Regions from separate parts of the Homo sapiens genome. Here all the other regions are linked to region 4. The links are contacts of gene promoters, found by promoter capture Hi-C in blood cells and fetal thymus (Javierre and others, 2016). All regions are on one chromosome and are shown on one strand. Each heading gives the region's core, a stretch centred on a gene start or on the middle of the fragment in contact. The rest is flanking DNA. Distances are from core to core; before and after follow the strand shown.

The links. The method cuts DNA at HindIII sites, captures the fragments that hold promoters and counts their contacts. A CHiCAGO score of 5 or more calls a contact.
Region 1: a contact is called between a fragment that was not itself captured here and the fragment with the promoter of NUDCD3 in region 4, in 5 of 17 cell types (M0 macrophages, M1 macrophages, endothelial precursors and 2 more). The highest score is 7.5, in M0 macrophages.
Region 2: a contact is called between a fragment that was not itself captured here and the fragment with the promoter of NUDCD3 in region 4, in 1 of 17 cell types (monocytes). The highest score is 5.5, in monocytes.
Region 3: a contact is called between a fragment that was not itself captured here and the fragment with the promoter of NUDCD3 in region 4, in 1 of 17 cell types (naive B cells). The highest score is 5.3, in naive B cells.
Region 5: a fragment that was not itself captured here is called in contact with the fragment with the promoter of NUDCD3 in region 4 in 5 of 17 cell types (endothelial precursors, M0 macrophages, M1 macrophages and 2 more); the score reaches 12.9 in endothelial precursors.
Region 6: the fragment with the promoter of MYL7 here is called in contact with the fragment with the promoter of NUDCD3 in region 4 in 16 of 17 cell types (fetal thymus, M1 macrophages, activated CD4 T cells and 13 more); the score reaches 16.1 in fetal thymus.

The regions. Positions count from the first base shown.
Region 1 is chr7:44,158,665-44,161,998 of GRCh38, forward strand. The region is part of intron 1 of GCK (glucokinase); the gene reads right to left. Among named protein-coding and RNA genes, the nearest start is that of MYL7, 19 kb to the left of the region's middle. The HindIII fragment of the contact is 6,327 bases long and covers 1-3,334 here.
Region 2 is chr7:44,824,650-44,827,738 of GRCh38, forward strand. It overlaps a transcript of H2AZ2 not described here. Among named protein-coding and RNA genes, the nearest start is that of H2AZ2, 22 kb to the right of the region's middle. The HindIII fragment of the contact is 3,658 bases long and covers 1-3,089 here.
Region 3 is chr7:44,872,883-44,875,995 of GRCh38, forward strand. No RefSeq gene overlaps it. Among named protein-coding and RNA genes, the nearest start is that of MIR4657, 7.4 kb to the right of the region's middle. The HindIII fragment of the contact is 1,673 bases long and covers 472-2,144 here.
Region 4 is chr7:44,489,385-44,492,587 of GRCh38, forward strand. NUDCD3 (NudC domain containing 3) reads right to left here and starts at 1,274. Exons shown (of 6, transcript NM_015332.4): 1 at 1,025-1,274. The coding sequence starts at 1,216. RefSeq lists silencers at 856-1,025, 3,091-3,203. The HindIII fragment of the contact is 1,642 bases long and covers 15-1,656 here.
Region 5 is chr7:44,225,642-44,228,594 of GRCh38, forward strand. CAMK2B (calcium/calmodulin dependent protein kinase II beta) reads right to left here. Exons shown (of 24, transcript NM_001220.5): 20 at 875-1,003. Among named protein-coding and RNA genes, the nearest start is that of YKT6, 26 kb to the left of the region's middle. The HindIII fragment of the contact is 6,943 bases long and covers 1-2,953 here.
Region 6 is chr7:44,139,532-44,142,714 of GRCh38, forward strand. It overlaps MYL7 (myosin light chain 7), which reads right to left and starts at 1,801. Exons shown (of 7, transcript NM_021223.3): 1 at 1,772-1,801; 2 at 1,430-1,543; 3 at 1,181-1,256; 4 at 792-896; 5 at 251-329; 6 at 1-38. The coding sequence starts at 1,774. RefSeq lists an enhancer at 613-1,455. The HindIII fragment of the contact is 19,152 bases long and covers 1-3,183 here.

The DNA of each region.
Region 1 (3,334 bases), core at 443-2,942, 330 kb before region 4:
TGAGGGACAGAATCCCTGATCCACCAACCCCTGGAAATGCCATGCAGAGCCCCCAGAGAGCCAGACAGCCCTGGGCAGCCAGCCAGCTCCCCCCATAAAAGCCCCAGGCCAGGCCCCGGACACTGGTGTCCTGGGTCACCGTTAGCTCCAGGAATAAGTACCCTAGAACCCCTCGAGAGGCTGGACACTGGATAGCCACAGTGAGGAGGGGTGGTGGGCAGAGGGCCAGTGGCAGGCACAGCTGCCCTAGCCAGGACCCCCAAGGCCCATGTGCCTCCTTCCAAGGTGCCCCAAGCCTGCTCGCCTTCCCTGCCCCCAGCCTTAGTTTTGGTAATCTGCAAAACCAAGGGCCCTGCCCTGGGTGCTGCTCTCCCAGTGCAAAGTCCCTAACTTTGGTGTGACCCTTACCAGAGTCAAGGCTGTCTGGGCCTGGCTCCTTGTGACATCCATCGCCATCTCTCCGAGGGGCTAAGAGGTAGATGCTTTGGGAGGCAGAGATGCTCCTGCCTGCTGAGGCCTAGCACATGCTGTAGCCTTGGAGCGTAAGGCCCGCCTGTGGCAGCAACGGCTGCTTGGATGGAGAGCTGCCTGAGGCTGGCAGCCCAGGGCTTCTGCACTGAAAGGGCTCAGCCTGGCGGCTGCTCAAATACTCTGCCCCCTGCCATGGGGTCAGAGGCAGGGCAGAAAGGGAGGGTAGGCCATGTGGGTAACAGTTGACAGGGCCACGGGGACAGAGCCATGGGGCAGCCGGCCACACTCTGTGAACATGGGGTAGGGATTGCTGCCCAGCAGGAGGGGGTGTGCAGAGCCAGCCTACCCATCTTCCATTCCTCAGCCTTGTGCGGGCAGAAAGTCACCAGGCTGCCTTGGCCACAGAACACTTACTGAAATGCCCTTGGACAGGGAGGGGGTCCTAAGGGGGCCTGGCCCGCGCTGGTGCAGGTCTGGACTTGCTCTTGGAGGCAAGGGGATCCCCAGTGGATTTTCATCTGCAGAGAGGTTCGATTTGCATTTCATACAATCCAGGGGTCTGTATGGAACTTGGGGAAGGGGTGGTGGAGGAAGGTGGCCAACTGATCAAAAACAAACAAAAAACAGGGGTATCATTCTTAATTTTGTGACTGCAAAGTCCAGGCCTCAGGCTTGCTTTGGGTGCCTCCATGGGCATAGACCATGACTTCCAGGCTCTGGCCCAGGCCTCTCCTTGGGCTCACCTGGGAGTGACATCCACATGCTATGTACTTGCTGGCACCTGCCAAAGCCTGCTAAAATTAGCTGGAGCTGGCAAGTGGGTCAGGGTATGGAGGGTGCCTTGTCAGAATGCCAGGTCTCTCGCCAATGGCCAGAGTGATCACTCCCAAGAAAGCCCTTGATACAATTGATCCCTTTCCCAATATAGAGCAGAGATGGCCTCATCAGATCTCATGTGACAGGCCACTGACCCCCACAGCCCCCAGCTCTGAGCTACTGTTTGCTCATGGGGGCAGGGCTCACACCCAGGTTTGGAGTGGCACTGGGGCCTTCTGGTTCAGCCAGGCCAAGAAGCAGCCACCCAGCGAGACTTGCCCTTCTTCTGGGCCAAGCACACAGCACAGGGGAGGAGAATCTAAATTCAGTTCTCAAGAAAGGCTGAGGATGTGTACAAAGCCTGAAGCTGAGGCAAGTGGGCCCCCTTTCTTGGTTGACTGAACTGCCAGTGCCCTCTCTAGCCTCTATTTAGAGCAACAGGCATCCCCTAGAGTTCCTTTCTGGGAGCCACCTGCTGATATTCATTGGCATCCATGAGGCCAGAAAGCGGCCCAACACCCCTACTTCCCCACACCGTCTAATTCTCCGGGACCAGATTCTCATGACTCATGCCAGCCCTCCTGGGCACCCACCCTTGTCCTGTCTCAGTGCCTCTTCTTCAGGATAAGGGGTGACACCAACAGTCTGTACTGCACTGGAGTTGAGAGTCATTGTAGCAGGAACAGTTCCTGCTTTCCAGGAATTTTGGAAGGGCAAGACTGTCCAGAACCTGTCCAGAGAAGAGGGGCCAAGAAGGGGAGGGCCTCAGAGATGATGGCTCATGGAGGATGACCAGGACATGCTTAGAGTCTTCAGTAGCTCAAGGGCTGTCCCGAGGAGGATGGATGAACATTGTTTCTGCTTAGAGCTTTCTAAAAAGACAGAACTGTGCAGCTGTGGGCTAGGATGTCTCAGTAGATAGTGAACTCCCCATTTCATGGGGAGAGAAAGACAAGAGCAGAATCAGAAGGGACCTTGCTCTATGTCCCAGTGGTACCCCCATTTCTTAGTTGCTCAGGGTTCTGATTGACAGACATGACTTGATTTTCTTTTTCATTCATCAAAAGAAAATAATATGACAAGTTTGGTGATGGATATTCAAGATGATTAATTCTACTATCAAAAAACGAGACACAACCCACATACCCAACTACAGGAGGTTGGTTAAATAAATTATGCTACACTTACATGTAGTCATTAAAAATGGTAAGATTCATCTGCTCTATTGGCATGGAAAGATGTTCATGACATACTGTTGAAAGGGAATGTGTAGCCGCCCTTGAAGCTGGCCTTCAATTAGCCCTGCTTCTGGTATTCACCCCATGGTATAGTCTCTTCCATGCAGAATAGGTCTAGCCTGTGTAACTAATATGATAATGCAGAAATGGTGGAGTATGACTTTGGAGCCTAAGCCAGAAAAGACCCTGTGGTTTCTGCCTTGTTCTCTCCTGGACTGTTCCCTCTGGGGGAAGCCAACTGCTATGCTATGAGGTTGCCTACAAGAACTCTGGGAAGATCCATTGAGAAGAAGCGAAGTCTCTTGCCAATACGCAACTCCAACTTGCCAGCCATGTGAGTGGACCACTTTGGAAGCAGCTCCTCTGGCCCCAGTCAAGCCTTCAGGTGATGCAGCCCCAGCCAAAACCCTGACCTCAGGAGAGACACCAAGCCAGACCACCCAGCTAAGCTGCTTCTGAATTCTTGACCTACAGAAACTGTGTGAGATAACAAAGGTTTGTTGTTTCAAGCTACTATGGTTTTTTTTAAAAACACTTTATGAAATAAAATTTTGTTATTACAGAACAAATAAGTTTAGAAACCATTTTCTATCTTTTAGCATATGATCCAGATATAAGACAGTGTCATACCACATTCTTGTCATCATAATACACGGAAAGGTGAAGCCACTAAGTTTTGAGGCAGTTTGTTATACAGCAATAGATGACTAACACAGGGGAAGAACAGGAAACATAGTATGATCCATTTTTGTCGTATATACGATATAGATAATATATGTATTGGGAGGAAATATACCAAAATGGTGACA
Region 2 (3,089 bases), core at 363-2,862, 340 kb after region 4:
TGAGACAGGCACTGACTGGAGCAGGGTTTGCCAGACTCAAAGGGCCACATTTTAGGGACAGTCTAAAATGTGGTATATGGACAGTCTGGCAGTGGTATGTAGAATGGGTTAAAACTGGAAGACTGGGCTGGGTATGGTGGTGCATGCCTGTAATTCCAGTACTTTGGGAGGCTGAGGCAGGAGGATTGCTTGAGCCCAGGAGTTCAAGACCAGCCTGGACAACACAATGAGACTTTGTCTCTAAAAAAACAAACAAAACTGGGTAATTAGGAGGTGACTACAAGAGCATAGGGAGCTAGTGGAAAATGAAAGGATGTGTGTAAATCTGAAGAAAAGGTCAGAACTGAAGGTCAGAATGTGTGCTCTGCAATGTGTGAATACAGTATGAATGTGCTCCAGGAAGAATATCTGAAACAGATTATCATGAGTTTCCAGAAGTATGTGGCTGTACTCAGAGTTGGGGAAGAAGATAGCAGGAAGTGGGCAGAGGCAGTAAAAGCGGAATGGGGATTGAGGAATTGATGCTCCTGATAAGAGAAAAAAAAGGCAGCTTGTGTGGGAGCAGGAGCAAGTTTTTGACAGGACAGGCTGTCACATAGGGTTTTGCTGCTGAACTCCACCAAGCAAAGCCTTGGAGCAGAGTTCCTCAGCTGCTGAGGTCCACACTCACACTCAGCTGTGGCAGGAGGCTATGGAGTCTACAGGCTTATAGGCAATTCCCAGAGTGTTAGTTTCCCACTGGCATTCTGGGCATGTGAGGGGCTTGTAGGGCTGGGCTGGAGACTAGATGAGCCTGCCTGTGTGCAGGAAGTGCTAAACTGAATACTGAGTGCCAGACTTGCCTGGCTCCATACTAAACAGGGAGTCACGGCTTCTGTCCATCCAGGAAATACATGTACCTCTCATATATACCTATTCCACAAACTCTTTTTGAAAGCCCAGACGATAAATAGGCACAAAGCTACCTAAGCTCAAAAGGCCACCTGGCTCTACATGTGAGACATTAACATGAGGGCTTTATAGATACTTTTCTATATGTGGCCTCAAGCAAACCAGAAGAATGTAAGTGCCATCGCATGTCCACGGGCCAGCTGCAGACCCCCTTGAGCAGACTCGTGACTTTTTGCACTGACCTGGATTTGTGGTCAGACTGACCTGGGTTCAGATTCCTGTGTCACCAACTGGAGCCATGTAACCCTGGGCTTGGGCTAACATCTCTTTTTTTTTTTGAGACAGAGTCTCACTCTGTCACCCAGGCTGGAGTGCAGTGGTACAATCTTGGCTTACTGCAACCTCCATCTCCCAGGTTTAAGCAATTTCTCCCACCTCAGCCTCCCGAGCAGCTGAGACTACAGGTACGTGCTACCATGCCTGGCTCATTTTTGTATTTTTTGGTAGACCTTGTTGGCCAGGCTGGTCTCAAACTCCTGACCTCAAGTGATCCACTTGCCTCCCAAAGTGCTGGAATTACAGGCGTGAGCCACCGCGCCAGGCTGTATCTAACATCTCTGAATCTGAATTTCTTTGCTTGTAAAATGAGGCTGGTATTTATTTCCCAGATTTATTCAGGGGGTTAAATGAGCTAAATCCACATAAGGCAGGCTGGTAGGTTTTCAAAGAAATGTTTAGTGACCTTCCCCTTCCATAGGAAAAAAACTTAAGTTTTGGAGCTAAACAGACCAGATTCTCAGCACTTTCCCATTTCAGATTATGTGACCCTGGGATGTTGAATCATCTTCCTCTGCCTGAATTTCCTCATCTGTAAAATGAAGTATTATTGCCTTCTTGCTGTGGAGATGGAAAACTGAGAGGAGCCTGAGGCTCTTCAGCAGAGTGTGGCCTGAGAGTGGCCAGGGCTGGTTAGGCCCACCCTCTCCTCCAACACCTTCAGAGATGGGAGGACTCACTTTTTCAGTTTCTCCTTCTTCTTCTTTTTTTTAAAGACAGGATTTCACTCTGTTGCTCAGGCTGGAGTGCAGTTGCATGGTCATAGCTCATTGCAGCCTTGACCTCCCAGGCTCAAGCAATCCTACTCAGCCTGCTAAGTAGCTGGGACTACAGGTGTGCACCACCACACCCAGCCCTTTCTCAGAGTTTCTAAAGCTGAAAGCCATCGTCCAGAAATATTTAGTCCATACCTCTTTTTACACAGAATATATTTAATTCCATCATATAAGCTAGGAACAATGTTAACCAACAGAAAATGTGATCACGAGCTACATACAATAGATCAAATGAAGCACACATCCATGAAAAAATCATGCCAATTAAATATACTCTGCATTTCCATTAATATTAGTATGCTATTCTTTGATTTTTTTTGCTGATAAGCAGTCAAAACATTTAAACTCAAAATTGACAAATCAACTAGCTTGCTTTTTGTCATTTGGAAGACTACCATTATTCAAATTTATTATGTAATACACTCATCCAGATAATGAAACATCTGCGAAAAAAAGTGTGGGAATCACCTCATCTGTGCATAAAATGGCTATTATACATGAATGCAGACGTTTGAAGTTAGAAAGGAATATAACTCAAATAGCAAAAGGTCCTAATTACAGAGTTTACAAATAAGCAGTTTTATTTTCAAAAGTACATAGTAAGTCCAGACTGGGCTATTGCCAAAGAACTAATCTTTAGTCTACTTCAACATGTTACATGGTATTCCTGACTCTACAGACTATCAGCATCTGTGGAGGTTAGCTCCTAAAGGTCCCAAAGAACAGGAAACATGCAGGAATAAAGGACTCCTCGTGAAGAGCAGGTGGGAGCGAGTGGGCAGGCCTGTATCTTCTCAGCAAAGTAAGGATTGAGTATAGAGAGCTGTTTGTCTTAACTGGGCTTCCCTGAAGAATCTGAGCCAAACTGGAAGAAACCAGCCTCATTTCCAGTGTTGAGATGTTAGCTGTACAGTGGCTGTACAACTGCAGAGTTTATTTATAGAATTAGAAATAATTTTTTAAAATTTTAAAAGGTTTTGTGTAATCATTAACCAGAGATGATATTCACAAATTCTGGTAAAAATTTGACTCTCCAACTATCACCATATCAACAGGAAACAGGGCCATGCCACCAGGGAGGACTGT
Region 3 (3,113 bases), core at 58-2,557, 380 kb after region 4:
CTGCATGTGAGAAGGTGGGGAAGTGTGTGTGAGGGTTGAGTCTAGGGCAATCTCTGTGTTACCCACAGGCTTGAGAGACTTAGTCCATTCTCTCCAACCTCTGTTCTACAAACTACCAGTGGATTTGTTGTGTCATCTCAGACACACAGTATAGGAGTAAGAAGTTTGTCCTTTCTATAACAACATGGTGTCATGTCAAGAGAGCTAATTTAGATGTATGTTTGCTGTTGTCATTAACTAGTTTGGAGACCTTAATTAGGTCCACTGAGGGGTCTACATAAGGTACCATGGATGTCTAAGATAAGTTAAACATCTGTCTTGTGTAGGGAGTATTTCCTTTTCTTTTAAATTTAAATGGGGCTGTCTCTTGTAAGGAGCAAATGTCTGGGTCAGGAACGATGTTGCAAATCAAATTATCTATTGCTTGAATGGAGGCCTGGTTAGTAGCTAGGGAGACTAGTTCTTCCTAAAAGCTTTCTCTTCTTTCTCCCGACCCACTAAACTATAAGTCCCATATGAACGACAACCGTATCCTCTACCCTAGTACAATACCTGGAATATAGCAGCTACCCAATAATTAACTGAATGAATTTACAAACGATCTGAGCTAAGAATTGTTATTAAAAGATTTTGGGGCTGGGCGTGGTGGCTTACGCCTGTAATCCCAGCACTTTGGGAGGCTAAGGCAGGTGGATCATGAGGTCAGGAGTTCAAGACCAGCCTGGCCAACTTGGTGAAACCCAGTCTCTACTAAAAATAAAAAGAAAAAATTAGCTGGGCATGGCGGCGGGCGCCTGTAATCCCAGCTACTCAGGAGGCTGAGGCAGAAAATTGCTTGAACCCAGGAGGTGGAGGTTGCAGTGAGCTGAGATCACGCCACTACACTCCAGCCTGGGTGACAGAGTGAGACTATGTCTCAAAAAAAAAAAAAAAAAAAGATTTTGGTACTGAAGGTACTTGCCCAAAATCAGACTGTTAGTTTAGAACAGTCAGGGATAGTCATGACATGAAAAAATACAAAAACTATAAAGGTAATAGCCCTGTTCCTGCAGGCATTTGCTCTAATGCAGCTCTTCAGGCTGTAGCCTGGCTGCATCTATTGTTTAAACTTGTACAGTAACAAACTTCACATGAATCTGAAAAATTCAAACCATCTACAGGGTTTCTAGTGAACCAAACCCAGCCTCAGCAGCACTACAGCAGACTAACTCATCAGGGCAAATACTTCCTGAGACCTGTGTCAGTTGGCAACTAAGCTAATTCTTTCCATAACTTTTGTTGATTTCTGCAGTTAGTCCCCAAGCATGGTCCTCAAATCAGCAGGATCAGCATTATCTGGGAACTTGTTAGAAATGCAACTTAAGGCTGGGCACGGTAGCTCACGCCTATAATCCCAGCACTTTGGGAGGCTGAGGCGGGTGGATCACCTGAGGTCAGGAGTTTGGGACCAGCCTGGCCAACATGGAGAAACCCTGTCTCTACTAAAAATACAAAAATTAGCTGGGCACAGTGGCACGTGCCTGTAATCCCAGCTACTCGGGAGGCTGAGGCAGGAGAATCACTTGAACCTGGGAGGTGGAGGTTGCAGTGAGCCGAGATCGTGCCATTGCACTCCAGCCTGGGCAACAAGAGTGAAACTCTGTCTCAAGGGGAAAAAAAAAAAAAAGAAATGCAACTTAAGTTCCCTCTAGAACTGCTAAATCAGAAACTCAGTAATCCATGTTTTAACCAGCCCTCTAAGTGACTCCGATGCATGCTAAGGGTTCCTCTGTGCTAGTAAAACCCCAGATTTTCCCAGGGAGGGACTACTAATATCAATACTGAAGGATTCCATTTACAAACTTTTCTCAAGATGAGTTATTTTAGAGGTTTAAGTGGTAATTTAGGCACAGTGGTTGGGAGGTGAAAGCCATACATTCAAGGAATGTTCTGCTATACTCTTTTGTTTTCCTCTGGCAGAGATTCCCAACCCTTTTCCCTTCTTTATACCTTAAAATCCCACAGGCCACTGGTTTCACCCCTGACTGTAGGCTAGAATCACCTTGGGGAACTCAAAAAGGCAAAGCATTACCAAAAAACTCCATGTCTGTGTCTCAAAGATTGATTCAGTTGGTCTATGGTGGTGCCTGGGCATCAGTATTCAAAGCTTTCCAGGTGGTTCTGCAGCCAGCATTGAGAACCACTTAAGAGATTGTAGAAATGGACAATCACAGGAAAGTTATGTATGTTGTGTGTTGGGGGGGCTGGGGGCGGTGTAGGCATTTCGTAGCAGGAGCTTCTAATATAAAGAAAATATACGAGAACTAAAGGATTAAGCTATCTATACATAAAAAACCATCCCTCATTTTCAGAAAGGCACTATTTACTTATTAGTCTAGTTAGTGGTTCTCAAGAGTGTGATCCAGAATCCCCTAGGGTTGCCCGAGACTCAGGAGCCCAAGAGGTCAAAACTATGTTCATAAGAACATTCGCATTTTCCACTTTCATTCTTTCATAAATTTACAGTGGAGTTTTCCAGAGGCTATGACATTATCATGTAATTGCTCTGATAGCTGATGGAATGTGTGCTTGTTATTTTTGTCTGGAAAATGTTTCAGCTTCTTGGCCGGCGCGGTGGCTCACGCCTGTAATCCCAACACTTTGGGAGGCTGAGATGGGTAGATCACGAGGTCAGATTAAGACCATCTTGGCCAACATGGTAATACCCTGTCTCTACTGAAATACAAAAAATTAGCCGGGCGTGGTGGCACGTGCCCGTAATCACAACTACTTGGGAGGCTGAGGCAGGGGAATCGCTTGAACCCAGGAGGCGGAGGTTACAGTGAGCTGAGATTGCGCTGCTGTACTCCAGCCTGGCGACAGAGCAAGACTCCGTCTCAAAAAAAAAAAAAAAGTTTCAGCTTCTAAAATGGTATCTACGGATAAAGCCTAGAAAGATAAAACCTCCTTGGGGATATTCAGTAAATTTAATTGTAAAGGGGTTCCTGAGACCAACCTGGCCAGGATAAATGGACACAATTCAGTTTTTTTCTTAAACATTAGGGCAAGAAAAGGCTGCCCTAATTTACCTCCTAAGCAACTACAATGTTGATAAACAATGAATGAAGACTTAG
Region 4 (3,203 bases), core at 24-2,523:
ACCAAGACATTCAAAGCTTTGGCTTCTGCTGAGGAAAGTAACATCTTACCAACCTGCAGCATGCATTAAGACTTCAGGAGGAAACATCTGAAGCATTTTATAAACTGTAACATCTAGAGAACTGAGGGAGGTATCATCAGCATTTCTATCTTCTTGGGTTTCTACAAATAGGCTTAATACTTGGCTGAATAGTTTCTTTTAATCTCATCAGAAGTCCCACCTCTCTTATAAAAACTTCACTTCTCAACCATCATTTCTATTTCCTTTCTTTACAATGGGCTCCATCAAATAATTGCCCTTAAAAAGTTTTCTATTACTTTCTGGGTTTTCTCTCTTTAACTGTGTCACAAGGAGAGAGAAACCATTACTTAAACACCCGTATCACCCTCACCTGCGGCAACTAAGAGTGTAAACTACATTCAGCAAAAGGTTGCTTACCACTACATTCAAAAGTGCCCAGTCAACTTCACTGAATGAGTATTGACAGCGTTTCCAACATACAATAAACTTAACCTGGAGGGTACGGAATTAAGCTCAAATAGAAATTTTAATAAGCACTACATTGACAGTCTTTGACCTGGGAAGTCACATTTCAAACAAGCGACCACACCCATTGATCAACACAATGCCTCCGTCATCCCCGCCAGCTCAAGTCTTTGGTAGTTCTGGGGCATGCACGTTTCTGTTGCTGTAAATGTCCTTCCTTCTGTCTGGCCTGCATGGATTTCGCTCCCTGACTAGCGGCCCCCAGCACCGTGAGGGGTACGCGCTGGCGGGTGCTGAGTAGGGCTCTTAACAGTCGGCTTACTACTTCTGAAACCTCAGGACGTCCGGAGCGAACACCTCAGCGGAATAAGCTGACATCCAATCCGCGCTTCAAATTACTGAAGCCATTCTCACAAGCTCAACCCCAGGACACCAGGAAAAGGAGGAAACAGGCTGGGAGAGCTTGGAGGAGCGGGCGCCAGGAGTCAGGGCAGGCCGGGGGCGGCGGCTCCCCAGACCGCAGGCCCGCCCGCCTCACCTGCAGCACCAAGGCCTGCGCGGCCCCGGGCGGGAAGCCCATGCGGTCCGATGGGTGGCGCAGCAAGCGATAGAAGTCTGTCTTGCGGTAGAGGAAGCCAAAGAGAACGCGCAGGAAATCCTGGACGTTGCCCACGTGCTGCAGGATGCCCAAAAGGGCCTGGTCATACAGCTCGGCCGCCCCTGTCTCCATGTCGCCTCCCGCCCTAGGTACGCTTCACACACACAGCGCCGCCTCAGACCTGCCGACTGGCCACTTCCGGCGTCCGCAGCCAACGGCTCCGCCGGACGGCGCGGCTGCGGAACTTCCGGTCCGTGCTCGTTCGGCCCCCGCGGCCCCGGGCTGTTTTCCCCAGACCCAGCTGCCCCACGGGCTTTGCCTTGAGGTGGTCTTAGACAAAAGAGCCCGACAAGGGCAGCAAGGAGGTTCCTACGCGGAAGGAAGCCCGTGGCTTCTGCTGCGCTGCGAGGGCTTGACCGCCATGTTTGAAGCGGGCGGAAAAAAATTATGGGGCGTGCAGTGTCACGTGACTGCTCGGATTTTTGTCACGTTGTCTGTGGATCCTTTCTTATTTCTGTGTTGAATTCCAGCCTGGGTATTTGGAACCTATGGTTAAAGATGGGGCTAGGGTAAGCTTTTTGTTAGTGAGCCAGAGACGGGAAAATGCGTATATGTGGGATGTATGGGTTTCTTATTAACAGATCTGTGAGTTAAACTCAGGGCGTTGCATCAGAAGAAAGTCAAGATGACGAAGAAAATAAAGAGTGCATTCAACGTATATTAAGTGGAAAGAGCTAGATTCAGAATAGAGAATCCGTATGCCATCGTTGTGAAATATGTACGTGTATGTGTGTGTATAGTATGTATATACATATATACGTCATATATACATATGTTGTTAGTGTCTGTCAAAGTATAATCTTAAAAAAGTAAAAAGCATGACACTCATACAAATATATCATGAACACATATCCAAGATTTCTTCAGCAAATTAACAATGATATGGTAAAGCTGGTTCAAAAGCATTTTGAGGAAGTGGAGATTAAACATTTTGACAAAGCATTAGAGTAAGATTAGGTTGGATACAAAGCTGGCTGGTGTTCTACAAGATGATAAAACCATAGATTATCATTTCTAGTGTATAGAAATGATTTGCACCTCTTCTAGATTAAAACATGCAAGTTAACATGTCTTCATAGTGTATAAGCTTTAATGAATTGTAAATAAAATCCAACTCAGGTAAATTGCCCTAGAACAGTGGTTCTGAAACTCTTGATTTAGGGACCATTAATCCTCTTAAAATTTGTTGAACATTCCAAAGAACATTTGTTGATATGGGTTATGCTTATCAATATTTACCACATTAGAAATTAAAACATAAAATGTTTAAATATTTATTTAATCATTTTTAAATGACCATAAAACACATTACATGTTAACATACTTTTATGCAAAAAATAATGTTCTTCAAAGCAATAAAAGTTCAGTGAGAGGAGTAACATAGTTTTACATTTTTGCAAATCTCTTTAATGAGCCTACTAGAAGACAGCAAGATTTGGCCGGCACAGTAGCTCATGCTTGTAATCCCAGCACTTTGGGAGGCCGAGGCGGGAGGATCAGGAGTTCGAGACCAGCCTGGCCAACACAGTGAAACCCTGTCTCTACTAAAAATACGAAAATTAGCTAGGCGTGATGGCAGGTGCCTGTAATCCCAGCTCCTCTGGAGGCTGAGGCAGGAGAATCGCTTGAACCCGGGAGGCAGAGGTTGCAGTGAGCCGAGATCACACCACTGCATTCCAGCCTGGGCGACAGAGCTAGACTCCGTCTCCACAAAAAAAAAGAAGACCACAAGATTCTCACATCTGCATTCACTGCAACATAATTTGCATTATGTTGTTTTCATTGAAGTATATGAAAACATGCAACCTCACACAGACAGTTGCAAATGAGAGGAATATTTTGTCTTTTCAAATAAATGTGGCTATTTGTCTTTAAAATGACATCAAAATTCTTCTACAAGCGATAGTTTCTATTTTTTTTATTTTTAAGAGGCAGGGTCTCCCTCTGTCACCCAGGCTGGAATGTAACGATGTGATCATAACTAACTGTAGCCTTGAACTCTTGAACTCAAGCAATCCTCCTGCCTCAGCCTTCTGAGTAGCTGGAACTACAAGCACAT
Region 5 (2,953 bases), core at 285-2,784, 260 kb before region 4:
GCTGCTCCTGTGGGTTCACTCTCCCCACACCCTTCTGCCCTGGCCGCCTGCAGCAGCCCCCAGGCCCAGCCTGCAGAGGGGACGGTGGCAAGCAGACCCCACCTGTCCCTCAAGTACTTACCTAGCCACTGCCCTGCCATGCCGAGCCCGTGGCCCAGCAGCCTCTTCTCTAAGAGTATCTCCACACCACCCCCAGTCTGGTGTCTCCCCACAGGTGGGGGTGGCAGCAGCCCTGGGATGTCATCCATCCCTGTAAGTGATACTGCGGGTAGTCGGCAGACAGACCGGGAGGTGGCCCAGCCTGGCTCCTCCCTGGCCGGGGAGGCTGCCCAGCCTGTGCTTCCTGTCCCGCCCGCTCTGTTTCAGCCTGGCCCCAGCTGCCCCCCAGATCCGCGCCTCCCGATCCCCACCTGCTCCCTGCTGTCTGGACTTGGACAGCTCTAATGCTAGAGCGTCTCAGGCCGGGACTGACACTTTTCTGTCCCGGCCCAGCAGGTCCACCTTGACCCAAGCCAGCAGCTCCTGGCGTGCTAGCCCTTGCCACACGCGCAGACCCTTTGCCACCCATTCCCCTCCCATCAGGAGAAAGCTGTGGACCTCAGGGTTGCGAATGCTGGGGTCGGCAACAAACCTGCTCTTTCGGACGCTCTTCCTATACACATATGTCATACACACTTCATAACCATAACCTCCATTTTCTGAGACCCAGTGGCACCTTCATGTGCTTCAAAGCAATTCCCTGGGACCCAGCAGAGGGATCCTGTGCCCCGCCCTCCTCCGCAAGAATGGCCCTTCCCAGAGCACCACTGCCAGGCTCGCACGCCCCGAGCCCCTCCGGGCAGCCGCTGCCACGGCCACTCAAGGTGCTACTTACATGGGGTGGGCAGGGGGCCAGGGATAGTCGGAGATGGGCAGGGCGGGGGCCCCACTGGCGAGGGGCCCTCGGCTTCTGGGGTCCCTGAGCCCCTCCTCACAGAGTTCAGGATGTCAGAGATCCTGGGGGCTGGGGCGGAACAGACGAGACGTGAACACAAGGCAGGCACGGGGGGCACGCAGGAGAGAAACCATGGGCAGACAGCCAAGCCAGAGATTGAGGGGCACAGAGGCAGATGTGGGGGATGGGGCACAAGGGGACAGAGGGGAGGAAGGGAGAATGGGGGGGTGTGGGGGGAAGATGGTGGACCTGGGCCGACAGAGGGGATATAGGGGAAAGAAGGGGATGTGGGGGATGGAGGGGAGCTTGGGGGACAGAGAGGGAAACGGGAAATGGAGGAGACGTGGGAGACAGAAGGGAACGTGGGGGACAGAGGGGCATGTGGGGGGACAAAGTGGGGGTGTAGGGGATGGGGGGCATGAGGGGACCAAGGTGGGTGTGGGGGACAGAGGGGGGTGTGGAAGACAGAGGGGGTGTGGGGGACAGAAGGGGTCATGGGGGATGGGGGTGCGTGAGGGGACCAAGGTGGATGTGGGGGACAGAGGGAGTGTGGAGGACAGAGGGGGATGTGGGGGACAGAGAGAGGTGCAGGGGACAGAGGAGGGTGCAGGGGACAGAGGAGGGTGCAGGGGACAGAGGGGGATGTGGGGGACAGAGGGGAAGTGGAAGACAGAGGGGGTGTGGGGGACAGAAGGCGGTGTGGGGAACAGAGGGGGAGGTGGGGGACAGAGGAGAGTATGGGGGACAGAGGGGGTGTGGGGGACAGAAGGGGGTGTGGAAGACAGGAGGTGTGGGGGACAGACGGAGTGTGGGGGACAGAGGGAGAGTCTGGGGGACAGAGGGGGTGTGGGGGACAGGAGGGGGTGTGGAAGACAGAGGAAGTGTGGGGGACAGAAGGGGGTATGGGGGGCAGGGGGTGGAGGACAGAGGAGGGTGTGGGGGACAGAGGGGGATATGGGGGACAGAGGGAGTGTAGGGGACAGAGGAGGGTCTGGGGGGCAGAGGGAGAGTGTGGGGGACAGGGGGTGTGGGGGACAGAGGGAGTGTGGGGGACAGAGGAGGGTCTGGAGGACAGAGGGAGAGTGTAGGGAACAGAGGGGGTGTGGGGGACAGAAAAGGGCGTGAAGGGACCAAGGTGGGTGTGGGGGACAGAGGGGTATATGGGGGACAGAGGAGGGTGTGGGGGACAGAGGGAGAGTCTGGGGGACAGAGGAGGGTGTGGGGGACAGAGGGAGAATGTGAGGGGCAGAGCAGAGTTTGGGGAGGAAAATGGAAATGAGGGAAAGAGGGGAATTTGGGGGACAGAGGGGGATGTAGGGATAGAGCGTGGACTTAGGGGGACGTGGAGAGGTTGTAGGCTGACCGAGGGGGATATGGGGGGACGGAGGGAGACAGGGGGACAGAGGGTGCTGCTGCGGACAGCGTGGTGCGTGGAGAGGAGGCTGCAGGAGTGAAGGGCAGATGCTCTGGCTGTCGGGTGGCGTGGGCTGAAGCTGCTGGGGGCAGAGGGCACCCTCCAGGGAGAGGCTGCTGGCCAGCAAGAAGCTGTCAGGTAAGTGGCCCTTGAGGAACGCTGGACGGGGTTACAGGGAGAGGAGGGAGTCACGGGCGTTACAGAGGAGGCCTGGCCTGGCCCCATGAGGACAGCCCAGGTCAGCAGAGGCCAGGCTTATGATTCTCCGTACTATCCCCTTGTTGGTGAGCTCCAGAGACCCTGGTCGGGGTTCCAGTTTTGGCACCTTCCTCAGCCTCCTAGACTGAGGGAGGGTGCTCAGGGGTTGGGGCCACATCAGGAACCAGGGTGGCCCTGAGTGCAGCTCCTGGGCACCATGGGCAGGGCCCCTGGGTGGGTGTGAAGTCTGTGGGGCTGGGACAGTGATCAGCAGAGAGGGCCTAGGGGCATGGGGGGCCTCGGAGGGGCCAGGGCTGCCCAGGGCTGGGACAGACATTTTGGAGAGGGGCCTGGGGCTGGACAGCGAGCGGGGAGTGGCAGTGGGAGCAGGAGCCGTGGAGGGGTCT
Region 6 (3,183 bases), core at 551-3,050, 350 kb before region 4:
AGAACTTGTCTGCCTGGGTCAGGAGAAGCTGCTTGAACCTGGGGGGTGAGGAGGGTCTGAGCAGGAGACTGCGGGGGAGTGACTGCACAGGGAAGGTGGGTACGGAGGCTCCCATGGCGCAGGGAAGGGTTGGCTGCACCCCAAAGAGCAGTGTAAGGCCCCGAAGCACAGGCAGCCCCCCTCACTAGGGGCCTCACCCCGCTCTCTGCTTCCACCACGGTGCTCCTCATCTGGCTGGGCCCATACTTACTCATCCTTGTTCACCACCCCTTTGCCGCTGGGGTCAAACATGCGGAAGGCACTCAGGATGGCTTCCTCGGGGTCTGTCCCTGGAAGGCCGAGGCAGCCAGGTGAGCATCCATGTCTCCAGCATCCCAGGTCCCCCGCAGGAGGAACTGGGCTGCATGAGGAGCCTCCCACATCCCAGAAGAGGTGGGGGTATTCCCTAACATAAAATGTTTCTCGGGGATCAGTGGGGCTGGGAATGGTCATCCTCCTGAGGCGGGCAGCTTGGCTGGGAGACTGGAATTTGGGGGTGGGGGCTGAAGGCACATTTCCTGGCTCCAAGTCAGCACTGGGGTGACCAGTGCACATGGGATTCTGGGGCAGAGGATGTGCTTGGAATGGGTCATGGCCAGGAAGAGTCCAGGTGGGTCCAGGTGGGGTTCAGTTAGGGTTCAGGTGGGGTTCATGTAAGGTTCAGGTGGGGTTCAGGCAGGGTTCAGGTGGGGTTCAGGCAGGGTGCAGGCTCCCTGCCTGGCCAAGGGTGCCCAGCTCTGTCCCAGGCTCACCATTGAGCTTCTCCCCAAAGAGCGTGAGGAAGACGGTGAAGTTGATGGGGCCCTTGCCCTCTTGCAGCATGGCGTCCAGCTCCTCCTCTGGGACACTCACCTTCCCTGGTGGGGGTGGGGCATGAGGTGCACACAGGGACCCTGGGTGTCCCCCAGAAGGCCCAGGCCGCCCTCCCTCCATCCTGGCCACAGGGGCTGGAGGGGCAGAGGCAGCTGTGGGTCGGGAAGGTGAAGTGGAAGCAAGGCGTGACAAGGGGGGAAGGGCAGTGTGAGGAGACGGGGAGGAGGGGAAGCAGGGGAGCAGAGTCCTGTCCCCCCAGCCACTCCCACCCGCCCAGCAGCTCAGAGTAGGGACCCCAGTGCGCAGGGTGGGAGGTGGGTGCACGCACCCAGCTGGGAGTAGGTCTCCCTCAGGTCTGCCTTGCAGATGATGCCATCACGATTCTGGTCGATACAGCTGAAGGCCTGTGGGATGGGGGCCTTCAGGTGGGAGCAGCCCCCAGCTCTAGGGAAGGTGGGAGGTGGGGGAGAGACCTGGGTGGTGTGAGAGGCAAGGTCAGGGTAGAAGGGGGGTATGTATGTGGGGTGGGGTGGGGGGGCCAGGATGGGATCTGAGGCTACTGGGAGTGGGCACTCACTTCTTTGAACTCCTGTATCTGGGCTTGTTCAAACATGGAAAAGACGTTGGAAGAACCACGTTGGGCCTGCTTGGTGGCTGCCACCTTGCCCCGGGTCCCCGCCTTCCTGCTGGCCTGCAACACTGTGAGTAGGGAGGGGTCCTCTCCCCAACTCCTCAGAGTCTCCCCACCCCACCCATCATGCACAGTCCCAGAGCATTCCCAGGAGAGCCAGGGCCAGGATCCTCTTCCTCTCCCTGGGGACCACCCTCAACCCAACACAAGCACAGAAAACTCTGCTCCCCCAGCCCAAAGGCCAGCACCTGGGAGACCGCTAGCCTTTCTTCCCCAGCAGGCACTCACCATTCTCTCTGCAGAGGTGTGGCTGCTGTCGTGGTGGCAGGGCCCAGCCTCCTTTATGTCTCAGCCTTATCACCTGAAGGTCCAAATAAGGAGAGGAACAGAGGATAGGCCCAAACTTGGCAGCCCCCGCCTGGGCTGGGGGAGGCCTAACAGATTCCAGCCACATTCCTGATGACCTTCATGTCCTCAACGTGTAACATCCTGCTGTCTATCCATCCTGGCAGGGCCAGACACAATGTCTGCCTGGAGCAGAGCAGGCTCAAAGCTCTCACCACCCTAGGTCCTGATGAAGGGATCCAGTTACTCCTGTATCTGACCACCCCTCCTTGCCAGTCCAGCCAGAACCCTGGCCAGTGCAAGAAGACAGCTGGTGAGGGCCAGTCCAGGGCCCCCGCCAGGCATGGGAGGGCAGTGTGTAGTTCTGAGGATGGTCTGTGGCCTGAGACCCCCGGGGCTTCCCAGAGGTTTTGGTGACCCTAGGCTCTGACCTTTTGCCCCTCTGACCAAGGGGCAGAAGGCATCCCTGAGCTAGCTGTGACCCCAAGAAGAACACTTTGCTTGGCTTTGGGGCAATTCCAGAGGGTTAAGGAGCTCCATCAGCTGCCCTCCCATGCAGTCTACCTTGCTCCCAGTCTGCCCTGCTGTTTGGAGCCTTGCCTTCCTCAAGCCTCATCTCAACCACACTACTTCAGAATGCTCTCCCTAACATCCTCAGCAGGGAGCTTCTGGGGCACATTTCCCATTTGCCTGGTGGCTGATGTGTTTGTCATTCCTGGCTTCTGTGCCCCTCCTGAGCACCCCACCTGGTTGACATCTGTATCCCCAGAAGGCCTGGTGCACAGTGGGCCGATGGGCAGGCCTGCGTGATGCTGTTCCAGAGAAGCAGTCTCGCCAGCTTCTGGGGCCGAGGGCACAGCAGAGGGGCTGGGGAAACAGGGGACATCCTGGAGGCAGCAGGAGTGGGCCACCCCAGGCTGGGCTCACTGGCTGCTGCCCCTCCACTGGAGCCAGACCTATGTCTGTCAGTAGCTGGCTGGTAGAGTGCAGGAGCTCTTATCTGTCAGACCCAATACCCTTTTTATATAACAAGAGTTTTCTTTTAAATTTCTTAAATTCCCTTTTTTTTTTTTGAGACAGAGTCTCACTCTCGCACAGGCTGGAGTGCAGTGGCGCGATCTCAGCTCACTGCCACCTCTGCCTCCCGGGTTCAAGCCATTCTTGTTCCTCAGCCTCCCAAGCAGCTGGGATTATAGGCATGTGCCACCACACCCAGCTAATTTTTATATATATTTTTTATTTTATTTTATTTTTAGTAAAGACGGGGTTTTATCATGTTGGCCAGCCGGTCTCGAACTCCTGATCTTAGGTGATCTGCCTGCTTCAGCCTCCCAAAGTGCTAGGATTACAGGTGT